Regions from separate parts of the Homo sapiens genome. Here all the other regions are linked to region 2. Evidence: promoter capture Hi-C in 16 types of primary human blood cells and fetal thymus (Javierre and others, 2016). All regions are on one chromosome and are shown on one strand. Each heading gives the region's core, a stretch centred on a gene start or on the middle of the fragment in contact. The rest is flanking DNA. Distances are from core to core; before and after follow the strand shown.

Evidence for each region. The method cuts DNA at HindIII sites, captures the fragments that hold promoters and counts their contacts. A CHiCAGO score of 5 or more calls a contact.
Region 1: a contact is called between a fragment that was not itself captured here and the fragment with the promoter of SBSN in region 2, in 9 of 17 cell types (megakaryocytes, M1 macrophages, erythroblasts and 6 more). The highest score is 8.4, in megakaryocytes.
Region 3: a contact is called between a fragment that was not itself captured here and the fragment with the promoter of SBSN in region 2, in 5 of 17 cell types (M2 macrophages, M0 macrophages, M1 macrophages and 2 more). The highest score is 8.9, in M2 macrophages.

Annotation. Positions count from the first base shown.
Region 1 is chr19:35,332,665-35,336,849 of GRCh38, forward strand. It overlaps CD22 (CD22 molecule), which reads left to right. Exons shown (of 14, transcript NM_001771.4): 3 at 1-260; 4 at 3,372-3,677. Among named protein-coding and RNA genes, the nearest start is that of CD22, 5.6 kb to the left of the region's middle. RefSeq lists a silencer at 641-850. The HindIII fragment of the contact is 4,678 bases long and covers 11-4,185 here.
Region 2 is chr19:35,525,785-35,529,693 of GRCh38, forward strand. SBSN (suprabasin) reads right to left here and starts at 2,527. Exons shown (of 4, transcript NM_001166034.2): 1 at 860-2,527. The coding sequence starts at 2,497. RefSeq lists enhancers at 1-109, 1,231-1,732, 3,178-3,678. The HindIII fragment of the contact is 2,098 bases long and covers 2,154-3,909 here.
Region 3 is chr19:35,389,825-35,393,781 of GRCh38, forward strand. No RefSeq gene overlaps it. Among named protein-coding and RNA genes, the nearest start is that of LINC01531, 14 kb to the right of the region's middle. The HindIII fragment of the contact is 543 bases long and covers 2,259-2,801 here.

The DNA.
Region 1 (4,185 bases), core at 1,100-3,599, 190 kb before region 2:
TGACCTGGAAAGCTTCATCCTGTTCCACAATCCTGAGTATAACAAGAACACCTCGAAGTTTGATGGGACAAGACTCTATGAAAGCACAAAGGATGGGAAGGTTCCTTCTGAGCAGAAAAGGGTGCAATTCCTGGGAGACAAGAATAAGAACTGCACACTGAGTATCCACCCGGTGCACCTCAATGACAGTGGTCAGCTGGGGCTGAGGATGGAGTCCAAGACTGAGAAATGGATGGAACGAATACACCTCAATGTCTCTGGTAAGGCCTTCGGGGAGCGGGTCCTCTGCTCTGGGCAGGGGTGAGTGGGAGGCAGGAAATACCTGACTCCTGGCACAGAGCTCACAAACCGAGCTTCCTGCAGAGCTCAGGCAGGGGACGCCAGCGGATGACGATGGCGATGCAGCAGCACTAGACAGAGCTGCGGGACCTCGGATGTCCCATCTGACCCTCAGTTCCTGCCCCTCTGGGACCTGGATTCCAAAGTTATCGGATCTCCTGATCTTTCCCTCTTTCTTTCTCACCATGTATTTTTCAGCTTTTGTGACAAACTCGTGTTTGGCCTTAGTACTGGAACCATCCAAGCACCGCATTCCTTTAGTGGGGTGGGTCTGCATGTAACCAGCCTCAGCTCTCCCCCAGGCTGGACCGCCCCCTTCAGACATTGGGGTCTGAAGCTGCATCGCTCACCCCAAACTTAGGGCTGCTCAGAGCTCCCTATAGAGGAAACTGGGTGTGGAACGGAGTAACCACACTCCCTAGGGCAGAGGCCCCAGACCTGTGTTTGATGGGTCAAATCCACCCCTACATGTGCAGTGCCATAACTGAGCCTGTGTTATAAAAATCATAAAATGTTTGTTTTACTTTTTTTCCTCTTCTTTTCCCCTTCCCCTTCCTTTCCCTTTTTATGAGACAGGGTCTCGCACTGTCATCACCCAGGCTGGAGTGCAGTGGCGCGATCTCAGCTCACTGCAGCCTTGATCTCCCGGGTTCAAGCAATCCTCCCACCTCCAAAGTAGCTAGGATCACAGGTGCATGCCACCATGCCCAGCTAACTTTTTAATTTGTTGTAGAAATGGGTCTTGCTATGTTGCCAGGCTGGTCTTGAACTCCTGGCCTCAAGCAATCCTCCTGCTTCAACCTCTCAAAGCATTAGGATTACAGGCATGAGTCACCGCACCCGGCCTGATCTTCTGATTTTTCAAGAGACGATGGAAATCTAGATTTTCCAGTGAAATCTCCCAGCATGTTAATGTTCATGGCAAGTTCTCATGAGCTCTTCAAGGTCAGATGACACTGTTGTTGAACCCCAAAGGCCAGGTTTGAGCTCCCGATGCGTAGTCAGCCAAACACTGACACCTCAGTGCTTAGAAGCTGAGATAGGATTATTTAATTTAGCCAAAGCAAGGGGACAGAAGAGAGAAACTCTCAAATCTGACCTGACTTTGAGCGTTAGTGGGGGCTTTTATGAGTAAAGTAGGTGTGCAGGAGGTGACCTCCCGATCGTCAAAGCTGTTGTGCCCCTCGGCTCATCAAATTTCTGGATGTCATCAAGGAGGTCTGTGTGACCTAAGGATCATTGTTCTTTGAAAGAGAGACAAGTTCATTTATCTTGCAGGCAGCTGCCAGGGAGTCAGGATGTAAGTTAAACAATTATGAGTGAATTAATGGTTACCTGCTACTGAAATGACCAAATGTAACTAATCATGCATGGAGGAAGGAAAGGACAAAGAGAAAAGAAAAGAAGTAAAACGAACATCTTATAATTTTTATAACATAGGTTCAGTTATAGCACTGCACATGTAGGGGTGGCTTTGACCCATCAAACACAGGTGTGGGGGGCCCCTGCCACAGGGAGTGTGGTCACTCCGTTCCACACCGTTTCCCGGATGGGCAGTTCTGAGCAGCCTTAAATTTGGGGTGAGCAATGCAACTTCAGACCCCGCTGTCTGAAGGAGGTGGTCCAGCCTTGGGGAGAGCTGAGGCTGGGTGCACACAGACCCACTCCACTAAAGGAATGCGGTGCGTGGATGGCTGCAATACTGAAGGAAGCCATGAAAGTAACACAAGTTTGTCAAAGCTGAAAAGTCCGTGAACTAAACTGATAAAATTCACTTAGAGGTGGTGGGAATAGGCCGGGCACGGTGGCTCACGCCTGTAATCCCAGAACTTTGGGAGGCCGAGGCAGGCGGATCACAAGGTCAGGAGATCGAGACCATCCTGACTAACACAGTGAAACCCTGTCTCTACTAAAAATGCAAAAAGTTAGCCAGGCGTGGTGGCAGGCGCCTGTAGTCCCAGCTACTCAGGAGGCTGAGGCAGGAGAATGGCGTGAACCCGGAAGGTGGAGCTTGCAGTGAGCTGAGATCACGCCACTACACTCCAGTCCGGGCGACAGAGCGAGACTCTGTCTCAAAAAAAAAAAAAAAAAAAAAAGAGGTGGTGAGGTGGTGGGAATAGAACTTTGCAATCATTCAGAAAGCAGACATCCGGCAATGAGCATGAAAGAAAAGTAGATCACAGTTCCCAAGGAGGCTTAGTGTGGTCAAGGCCTTTCAGAGGGGATTTCGGGTGAGCAAAAGTGATTCAAAGTGGAGAAAAGCAGGACTGCGTTGGGTGCAGTGGTTCCCGCCTGTAACCCCAGCACTTTGGGAGGCTGAGATCGGAGGATCGTTTGAGCCCAGGAGTTTGAGACCAGCCTGGGTAACATGGCAAGACCCTGTCTCTACAAAATGTTTAAAAAACTAGCTAGGTGTGGTGGCACATGCCTGTAGTCCCAGTTACTCAGGGGGCTGAGGTGAGAGGATTGCTTGAGCCTAGGAGGTTGAGGCTACAGTGAGCTAGGATTGCGCCACTGCACTCCAGCCTGGGTGACAAAGCAAGACCCTGTCTCTAAAGAAAAAAAGAGGCCGGGTGTGGTGGCTTACACCTGTAATCCCAGCACTTTGGGAGGCCAAGGCGGGAGGATCACTTGAGGTCAGGAGTTCAAGACCAGCCTGGCCAACATGGCGAAACCCTGTCTCTACTAGAAATACAGAAAAATTAGCTGGGTGTGGTGGTGGGCACCTGTAATCCCAGCTACTCGGGAGGCTGAGGCAGGAGGATCACTTGAACTGGGGAGGTAGAGGTTACAGCGAGCCAAGATCGCGCCACTGCACTCCAGCCTGGGTGACAGAGGGAAACTCCATCTCAAAAAAACAACAACACAACAACAACAACAATAACAACAAAAAAACAAAGCAGGACTGGAGAGAGGTGGAATGAAGTGGCAAGGGGTTCCTGAGGGGTGATTTGGGACAGGACATCTAAAGCCAGGTGTACGCTCACGTCCTCAGTCCCCCAGGCTCCTGCACGGGCTCTGTTCTTTTGCAGAAAGGCCTTTTCCACCTCATATCCAGCTCCCTCCAGAAATTCAAGAGTCCCAGGAAGTCACTCTGACCTGCTTGCTGAATTTCTCCTGCTATGGGTATCCGATCCAATTGCAGTGGCTCCTAGAGGGGGTTCCAATGAGGCAGGCTGCTGTCACCTCGACCTCCTTGACCATCAAGTCTGTCTTCACCCGGAGCGAGCTCAAGTTCTCCCCACAGTGGAGTCACCATGGGAAGATTGTGACCTGCCAGCTTCAGGATGCAGATGGGAAGTTCCTCTCCAATGACACGGTGCAGCTGAACGTGAAGCGTGAGTCTCCCCGGCATGCCTGTGGGAAGGGCAAGGTCTGTGTCACCTTCTCCCCAGCCCCGCAGGGGGCATGCACCCAGGGCAGGGGGAAGCCTGCACAGACGGCGGCATCCTCCAGCCCTGGTCACGCCGCCTTGTCAGCCCTGGTGTTTCGGGAAAAAGATTTGCTCTAGCCTAACAGAATAAAATGGTCCATCCTCAAGCCATGACATGAATTGGGGATTATCTGGTTAGGTCTTTTTGTTCCCCTCTTGGTGGGGATTTTTTTCGCATCATTATCTTGTGCCTCATTCATTCAATAAATACGTATCATGAACCTACTAGGTACCAGGCCTTATTACGGCTGCCAATGGGGGGCATGGGGCGGTGGGCAGGGTGCAGCAGTGAGCAAAACTCTTGCCCCACGCGGAGCCAGCGCTGCAGTGAAAGAGACAGACAACAAATGGATTACCAAAGAAATACAGAGCATGAGCCAAGACATTAGAATCTGGAACAAAGCAATGTTAAC
Region 2 (3,909 bases), core at 1,277-3,776:
GGATTCTCCTGCCTCAGCCTTCTGAGTAGTTGGGATTAGAGGCGCCAGCCACCACACCTGGCTAATTTTTGTATTTTTAGTAGAGATAGGGTTTCACCATGTTGGCCAGGCTGCTCTTGAACTCCTGAGCTCAAGTGATCCACCTGCCTCGGCCTCCCAAAGTGCTGGGGTTAACAGGCATGAGCCACTGAACCTGGCCTCTGTTCCCCCTACATAAATGGGTAAGAGAAACCTTCCAGAAAACCTCTCCTGGCTGGGCAGTGCAGGGGAAGAGAACCCTGGCCTGCCCTCTGCCAAAGCTGGGCACTAGCCACAGGACTTTGGCACGTCCCCTAACCTCTCTGAGCCTTTGTTTCCTTATCTGAGAATCAGGGCGTCAGCAGCCTCATCTTGACCACATCAGAGGGTAGTTACAAAGATTACACAGGCCAAGGCTCATCTCCGAAAGCTATTCCTCATGCTCACTCTCCTAACCAGGTTTTGTCAACACTCAGTCCCTTTGCACTATACTAGATCTTGATCTCAGGAACTGTTTCCCATTCCCCAGGAAGGGCTTCATGGGCCCCACTTGAGGCCCCCTTAACCAGGAGGGCAGCTCCCTGAAGGTGGGACAGGGTGCCCGCCACCCTGTCTGATACGTGCTTTGCAGATAAGGTGGCTCACCCCATCTGACCAGCTGCCACCAGCTCCTTTGTAAGGGAGATGGGGAAGGGGGAGGAACCCAGTGATATAGCTGCCCAAGCTTCTTTCACCAAACAAAGGCTACGCGGACCCCCCCGCCCCGCCAAATGTCCCAGGGGTTTAACCTTTCCCTCCCCCAACCCCCCTGTCCCCCATCTCCCCATCCCTGTTCACCTACATTCAGCAGCTGGTTGGCCTCCTTGCTGGCTTGGTTGACCCCATTATGAGCATTCTGCAGCTCCTTCCCGGCCTGGCCAGCAGCATGGTGGGCACCTTGGCCAAGCTTCTCCACTTCCTTTCCAGCCTGGTCAGCAGCATGGTTGACCCCTTGGCCAAGTTTCTCTGCTTCCTTCCCAGCCTGGTGGACCCCAGTGTGGAACCCTTGGACCGCTTTGTCTGCTTCCTTCCCGGCCTGTTCAAGGGTATGGTGAACTCCCTGGCCAAACTGCCCTGCCTCCTTCCCGGCCTCGTGGACCCCAGGTTGGACACCATGAACTGCTATGTCTCCCTCTTTCCCAGCCTGCCCTGCTGTGTGGTGAATGTCGTGGCCAAACTGCCCCGCCTCCCTTCCAGCCTGACTAACGCCATGATGGAGGCCTTGGACCACTCTGTCTTCCTCCTTCCCCACCTGCGAGGCAGCATGGTGGACACCCTGGCCAAACTTCTCTGCTTCCTTCCAGGCCTCATTAACCCCATGGTGGACCCCATGGCCGAGCTTCTCTGTTTCCTTCCCAAACTGACTGGCAGCATGGTGGACCCCCTGGCCAAACTTCTCTGTCTCCTTCCAGCCCTCACTGAGACCATGGTGGACCCCCTGGCCAAACCTCCCAGCCTCATTTCCGGCCTGCCCCGCAGCATGGTGGGCCCCCTGGCCAAATCTCCCTGCCTCATTTCCGGCCTGCCCCGCAGCATGGTGGGCCCCCTGGCCAAACTTCTCTGCCTCCTTCCCAACCTGACCAGCAGTATGGTGGACCCCCTGGCCAAACTTCTCTGTCTCCTTCCAGCCCTCACTGAGACCATGGTGGACCCCCTGGCCAAATCTCCCTGCCTCATTTCCGGCCTGCCCCGCAGCATGGTGGGCCCCCTGGCCAAACTTCTCTGCCTCCTTCCCAACCTGACCGGCAGCATGGTGGATCCCCTGGCCAAACTTCTCTGTCTCCTTCCAGCCCTCACTGAGACCATGGTGGGCCCCCTGGCCAAATCTCCCAGCCTCATTTCCGGCCTGCCCTGCAGCATGGTGGACTCCCTGGCCAAACCTCCCAGCCTCATTTCCGGCCTGCCCTGCAGCATGGTGGACTCCCTGGCCAAACCTCCCAGCCTCATTTCCAGCCTGCCCTGCAGCATTGTCGACTCCCTGGCCAAACTTCCCTGCCTCACTTCCCGCCTGGTTGGCCCCGTGATGGACCCCATGATGGATCAGTTTGTCTGCCTCCTTCCCAACCTGTCCAGCAGCGTTGTTGACCCCATGGCCAAGCTTCTCTGCTTCCTTTCCTGCTTGTCCAATACCATGGTTGATCTCATGGGCAACCTTGTCCATGCCGTGGTTGAGCCCCTGGACGCCTTTGTCCAACTCCTTGCCGGTGTGGCTCCCCATGTTGCTAAGTCCGTTGAAAACCTTCTCCACTTCCCTTCCGGCATGCGTGATTCCACTGTTGATGCCATCCAGGGCCTTGCCCACCTCTCTCTCTGCATTGCTCAGCCCTCGGTTGATCCCTTCAATGACCTTCTCAATGGGGTCATCGCTGGCCGCCCATCCAGACAGGGCCCCCAGTAGCAGAAGGAGGGAGCAGGAGCCGACCAGACGTGCAAGATGCATATTGCTGGGAAGGTCGGGAAGGATGCAGAGAGGAGCCAGGGAAGCCACGCTGCTATTTATCCTCTCTCCCTCTCGCCCTCTTCTCCACCCCTCATGACTCAATTACCCCTGTGAGGCACTGAGTTGGTCTTCAGTCAAGGAGGTGTTTCCCAGGGAGATTTGGAGTTGAGCAATGGAGAGGAGGAGGAAGAGAGGGTGAGTCATGGATGGAGAAGAACTCTGGCATCTTTGCTCCTTGCCCTCCACCCCAGAGATGGGTGTCTGCCCTTCCAACCACCTCCTCTTTCATTCCTCACCCACTGTCCAGGCCTCCTCTCTCGCAAACCCACCTTCCACCATGCTCCATCCCTGGGATGCAGGCAATTCTTCAACACCTCACTCCTCTCAGGCATCTAAGCCTCCAGCTCCCCAGGCAGTGAGGGGCTAGAATGATGGGAGGCACCGTCTGGAGAGGGGAGAACACTAGGTGGGATGAAGGAGTCATCAGACCTCGTTCTTGTGGGCCAGCCCCTGCCCTCACTCATTCCATTCCAGCCACACAGGCCTTCTCCCTGTTCCACAAACACACCAAGCTCATTCCTGCTGCAGGGCCTTTGCACATGCTCCTCTCTCTGCCTGGAATGCAGAACCCAGATCTTCACGTGGCTGGCTCCTCCTCATCCGTACTTGACTTAAATGCCAACTTCGCAAGAAAACCTCTCCTGACCATAACATGGCATTAATTATACTCTGTAGTATCACCCTTTTGTTTTCACAGAAAAAAAAAATCTGAAATTACCTTTATTTTTTATTGCCTGTCTCACCTACTAGCAATGTAAATTGGTCGTGTTGATCACTGCTGTATTCCTAGCTTCTTGAACACTGCCTGGGGTTCAGTAAATATTTATTGACTGGACAAATGGATGGATTCGAACAGGCCAAGGAAAGAGACTCCGAGCCCGAGTCTGGGTCTCACAGGGTGCTGGAGGGAAGGGCGCCTGGGTCGCCAGGGCAGCATAGAGTCCCTTGTGGAGTGCCGCAGATTTTGGAGGCAGGATCCCATTCCTGTCGCAGAACCCAGACCTCCTGCCTCCCAGCCCTTGGGCAAGGGCAGGGGGCTGATTGCCACGAGCTGGAACAGGACGCAGTGTCTCCTGAAAAGCCGGTTGAGGCAGCCACGGGGAGGGGCCGAAGACCCAGGGCAGCAGGAGCCTGTGAGCCAGAACCTGGGCTGGGGCCAGGCCCTCATCCTTCCTGCCCTCCCGACATGGGGCCTCCTAAGCCCCAACCTGAAGCCCCAAGTGTTGACATATTGGCTCGGGTTGGAGGGGAAACAGCTGAGAGTCTGGCCTCAGGCATGAAAAGGGCATCGGAAGGAAGGGCAGGTGGTGGTGGGCAGGCTTGGGGCAGCAGATGCATCTAGAAGCCAGTTG
Region 3 (3,957 bases), core at 1,280-3,779, 140 kb before region 2:
GAGCCAAATATGAGTGACCATGGCCCATGACACAGTCCCCAGGAGGTCCTGAGAACATGTGCCCAAGGTCGTTGGGGTGCAGCTTGGTTTTATACATTTTAAGGAGGCATGAGACATCAATCAAATACATTTAAGATATACATTTGTTTGGCCCAGAAAGGCGATACAACTCAAAGCAGGGTGGGGCTTCCAGGCTATAGGTAAATTTAAACATCTTCTGGTTGACAATTGGTTGAGTTTGTCTAAAGACCTGGGATCATAGAAAGGAAATGTTCAGGTTAAAAGATTGTGGAGACCAAGGTTCTTTTGAAGTCTTACAGTGGCTGCCCTTAGAAACAATAGTTGACAAATGTTTCCTATTCAGACCTTTAAAAGGTGCTAGACTCTTAGTTAATCTCTTCAGGATTGGGAGGGCCTGAAAGAAAAAGATCTAGCTATGTTAATAGAGATTCTTTACAGATGCACATTTCCCCCCCACAAAGGACAACTTTGCAGGGCCATTTCAAAATATGGCAAAGAAACATGTTTTGGGGTAAAATATTATGACTTTCTTCTTTGTCGTGTAATGTTATACCAGAGTAAGATTGGAAAGTAAGTCACAATATGTAAGTTAAATAAAACCCATCTGGGCTGGGCATGGTGGCTCACGCTTGTAATCCCTGCACTTTTGGAGGCTGAGGCAGGCAGATCACCTGAGGTCAGGAGTTCGAGAACAGCCTGGCCATTATGGTGAAACCCCATCTCTACGAAAAATACAAAAATTGGCAGGGCGTAGTGGCAGGCACCTGTAATTCCAGCTACTCGTGAGGCTGAGGCAGGAGAATTGCTTGAACCCAGGAGGCAGAGGTTGCAGTGAGCTGAGATCGCACCATTGCACTCCAGCCTGGGCAACAGAGTAAGACTGTCTCAACAACAACAACAAAAATCTGATGAGAATTTATGGTTTGTAGAGCATGACTTCTCTAGACCCCTTAGATAGGAATTTGGGCAAGATTTTAAAAATCAGAGCTTAGTTCTCACTAACAAGCCCCAAGAGTGTCCAAACTGAAACAGTCATGGTGCTTTCCTCCCTCCATCATTTGGGCTTATTCAACCTGCAAATGGAAATTCCTTAGAAAATTCCCAAATTGAGAGGAGCCCTTCCTGCTGTCTGGAACCCAGAAAAGACACTCATCCATCCAGACACAGATATCAAATTTCAAAGTCTGTTCTTCCTAGGCAATCAGCAATACATTTGGGGCTGGCAGCAGCAGAGCCAAAGAGAAAAAGATGGAAACCCACCTCCAGCCAAAAAAAGGTCAGACAGCTGTACAGGGGGCTTCTGAAAGTCCCAGTCTGCAGCAGCTGAGCCACAAGCAATGTGTTCCCAGGTAGGGAACCAAAATCTGTTACTGAAATGCCAGGGCTCCAGTCTAGGTCCCGTTGCTCACTGCACAGAAAGCCAATCACCAAGACAATGAGTACTGCCTGGGAAGAAGGCTTTAATTGAGTGCTTTAGCCAAGGAAAATGGGGATCAGTCTCAAATCCATCTCCCTAGTCAACTAAAATCAGGGGGTTATACAGCAGGGAAGAAATGTAACTACATGTGGGAAAACCAGAGTTAGGGAGAGGTAAGGAAGAGGAGTTGGTCAAAGGAATTAGGGAGGGATAAGGAAATCAGGAGGGATGAGGGGTCTGGCATCTCATTGTCTGGATGCAGTGATCTGGTGAGTTTCAATTCGTTGATTTCCTGTGGCAAGAACTCAGATAAGACAAATGCAGGCTTCAAACTTTAAGACCAGGAGGGGGCCAGGCACAGTGGCTCATGCCTGTAATCCCAGCACTTTGGGAGCCCGAGGTGGGTGGATCACGAGGTCAGGAGATCAAGGCCATCCTGGCTAACACAGTGAAACCCTGTCTCTACTAAAAATACAAAAAATTAGCCGGGTTTGGTGGCATGTGCCTGTAGTCCCAGCTACTCAGGAGACTGAGGCAGGAGAATTGCTTGAACCTGGGAAGCAGAGGTTGTAGTGAGCCAAGATCGCACCACTGCACTCCAGCCTGGGCAACAGAGAAAGACTCCATCTAAAAAAAAAAAAAAAAAAAAAAAAAGAAGGGTGAATTTCTACGTTGATCCAAAAGAAGCATCTATGGGACAATCAGGCCAGTTTCATGAGGAATATAAATTGGATCCTGTCATTGCCCTGAATAAAACTTTTCAATGGCTTTCCATTCTGGCCTCCTCCTCACAGCCTTTGAGGCCCTGCCTCTCTCTCCAAGCTTCTCTGGGGCCATCCCCAGAGAAGTGTCACTGACATCGCTCTTCTGGCCTGGACTTCTCTCTGTCCCTTGAGCAGGCCAAGCTCTGAATGTCTGCATGCACCATGCCTTCCACTCTTTACCTGGCTAGTTCCCCACTTCTTCCAAGTTTCTGTCCAATGTCACGCCTTAGAGAGGCTTTCCCTGATCATCCAATATCAAGTAGCCCCCTTCTGATATTATCTCACACTGCGCTCTCATGGTTTGATGTTTGTATGTGTGTGTTCATTTGTTTAACGTGACTCCTACTAGACTGAGAAGCCCATGACAGCAGTCACCACGTCAGTTTTCTTTGTCACTATATACCCAGTGGGTGCCTAAAACCGTGCCTAGCACAGACTGGGCATTTGATGGTGAATAAATGAATGAATGATTTTTTAAAAATATCTCTAATTTTCTACTATTATAAATAATGCTATGAGAACATCCTTTTACATAAAGGCACGTGCACTGTGCATTTCCTACAAGTCGTACTGTTGAATTAAATGATATGTACATGTAAAGCTTTGATAAATATCGATGAATTACCTTCCCCGGCTGAGTCAACCCTTTCTTCCCCAACAGTCTGTAAGAGACCCCATAACTCTGCTGACAAGAGAAAATATTGTATTTTAATTTTTTGAGATGATATTTAGAATTTAGAAACTTAAGTATTAGTCTGGGATTTCCAGAGAAACAGAACCAATAGAGTGTGTGTATGTGTGTCTGTGGGTGTGTCTGTGTGTCTGTGTCTCTGTGCATGTGTCTGTGTGTGTATGTGTGTCTCTGCGGTGTGTGTGTGTCTGTGTGTGTGTCTGTGTATGTATCTGTGTGTGTGTCTCTGTGCATGTCTGTGTGTGTCTCTGTGTGTGTGTACCTCTGTGTGTCTCTGTATGTTTTTGTATGTGTGTCTCTGTCTGTGTCTCTATGTGTGTCTCTGTGTGCATGTCTGTGTGTGTGTTTCTCTCTGTGTGTGTTTTTGTGTGTGTCTGTATATGTGTCTCCATGTGTGTGTCTGTATGTCTCTGTGTGCGTCTGTGTGCATGTATGTTTGTGGCTCTGTGTGTTAATGTGTGTCTCTGTGTATGTGTTTCTGTGTGCATGTTTGTATGTGTTTCTGTGTGTCTCTGTGTGTTTTTGTGGGTCTGTGTGTCTCTCTGTGTGTGTGTATATCTCTCTGTGTCTGTGTGTGTCTCTGTGTTTCTGTGTGCATGTCTGTGTGTGTGTCCATGTGTGTGTCTGTGTGTTACTGTGTGTCTCCGTGTGTGTGTCTGTGTGTTTCTGTGTGTGTGTTTGTGTGTGTGTGTGTGTGTGTCTGCATGTCTGCATGTGTGTATAAAGAGATTTATTTAAGGAATTGGCTCATGTGATTGTGAATGCTTGATGAGCCCAAAATCTGACGGAGGAAGCTGGCTGACTCGAGGCTCAGGAAGAAGTTGTGGTTGAGTCTAAAGAGAGCCTGCTGGTGAGCCAGGAAGACCCACTGCTGCAGACAAAGTCTGAATCCAGCATGCAGGAGAATTCTCTTTTGCATGTGGAGGTCAGCCTTTTGTGCTGTTCAGGCCTTCAGTGACTGGAGGAGTCCCCCACATTTTGGAGGGCAATCTGCTTTGCTCAGAGTCCACCAATGTAAATGTCAATCTCATCCAAAAACACCCTCACAGCAACACCCAGAATAA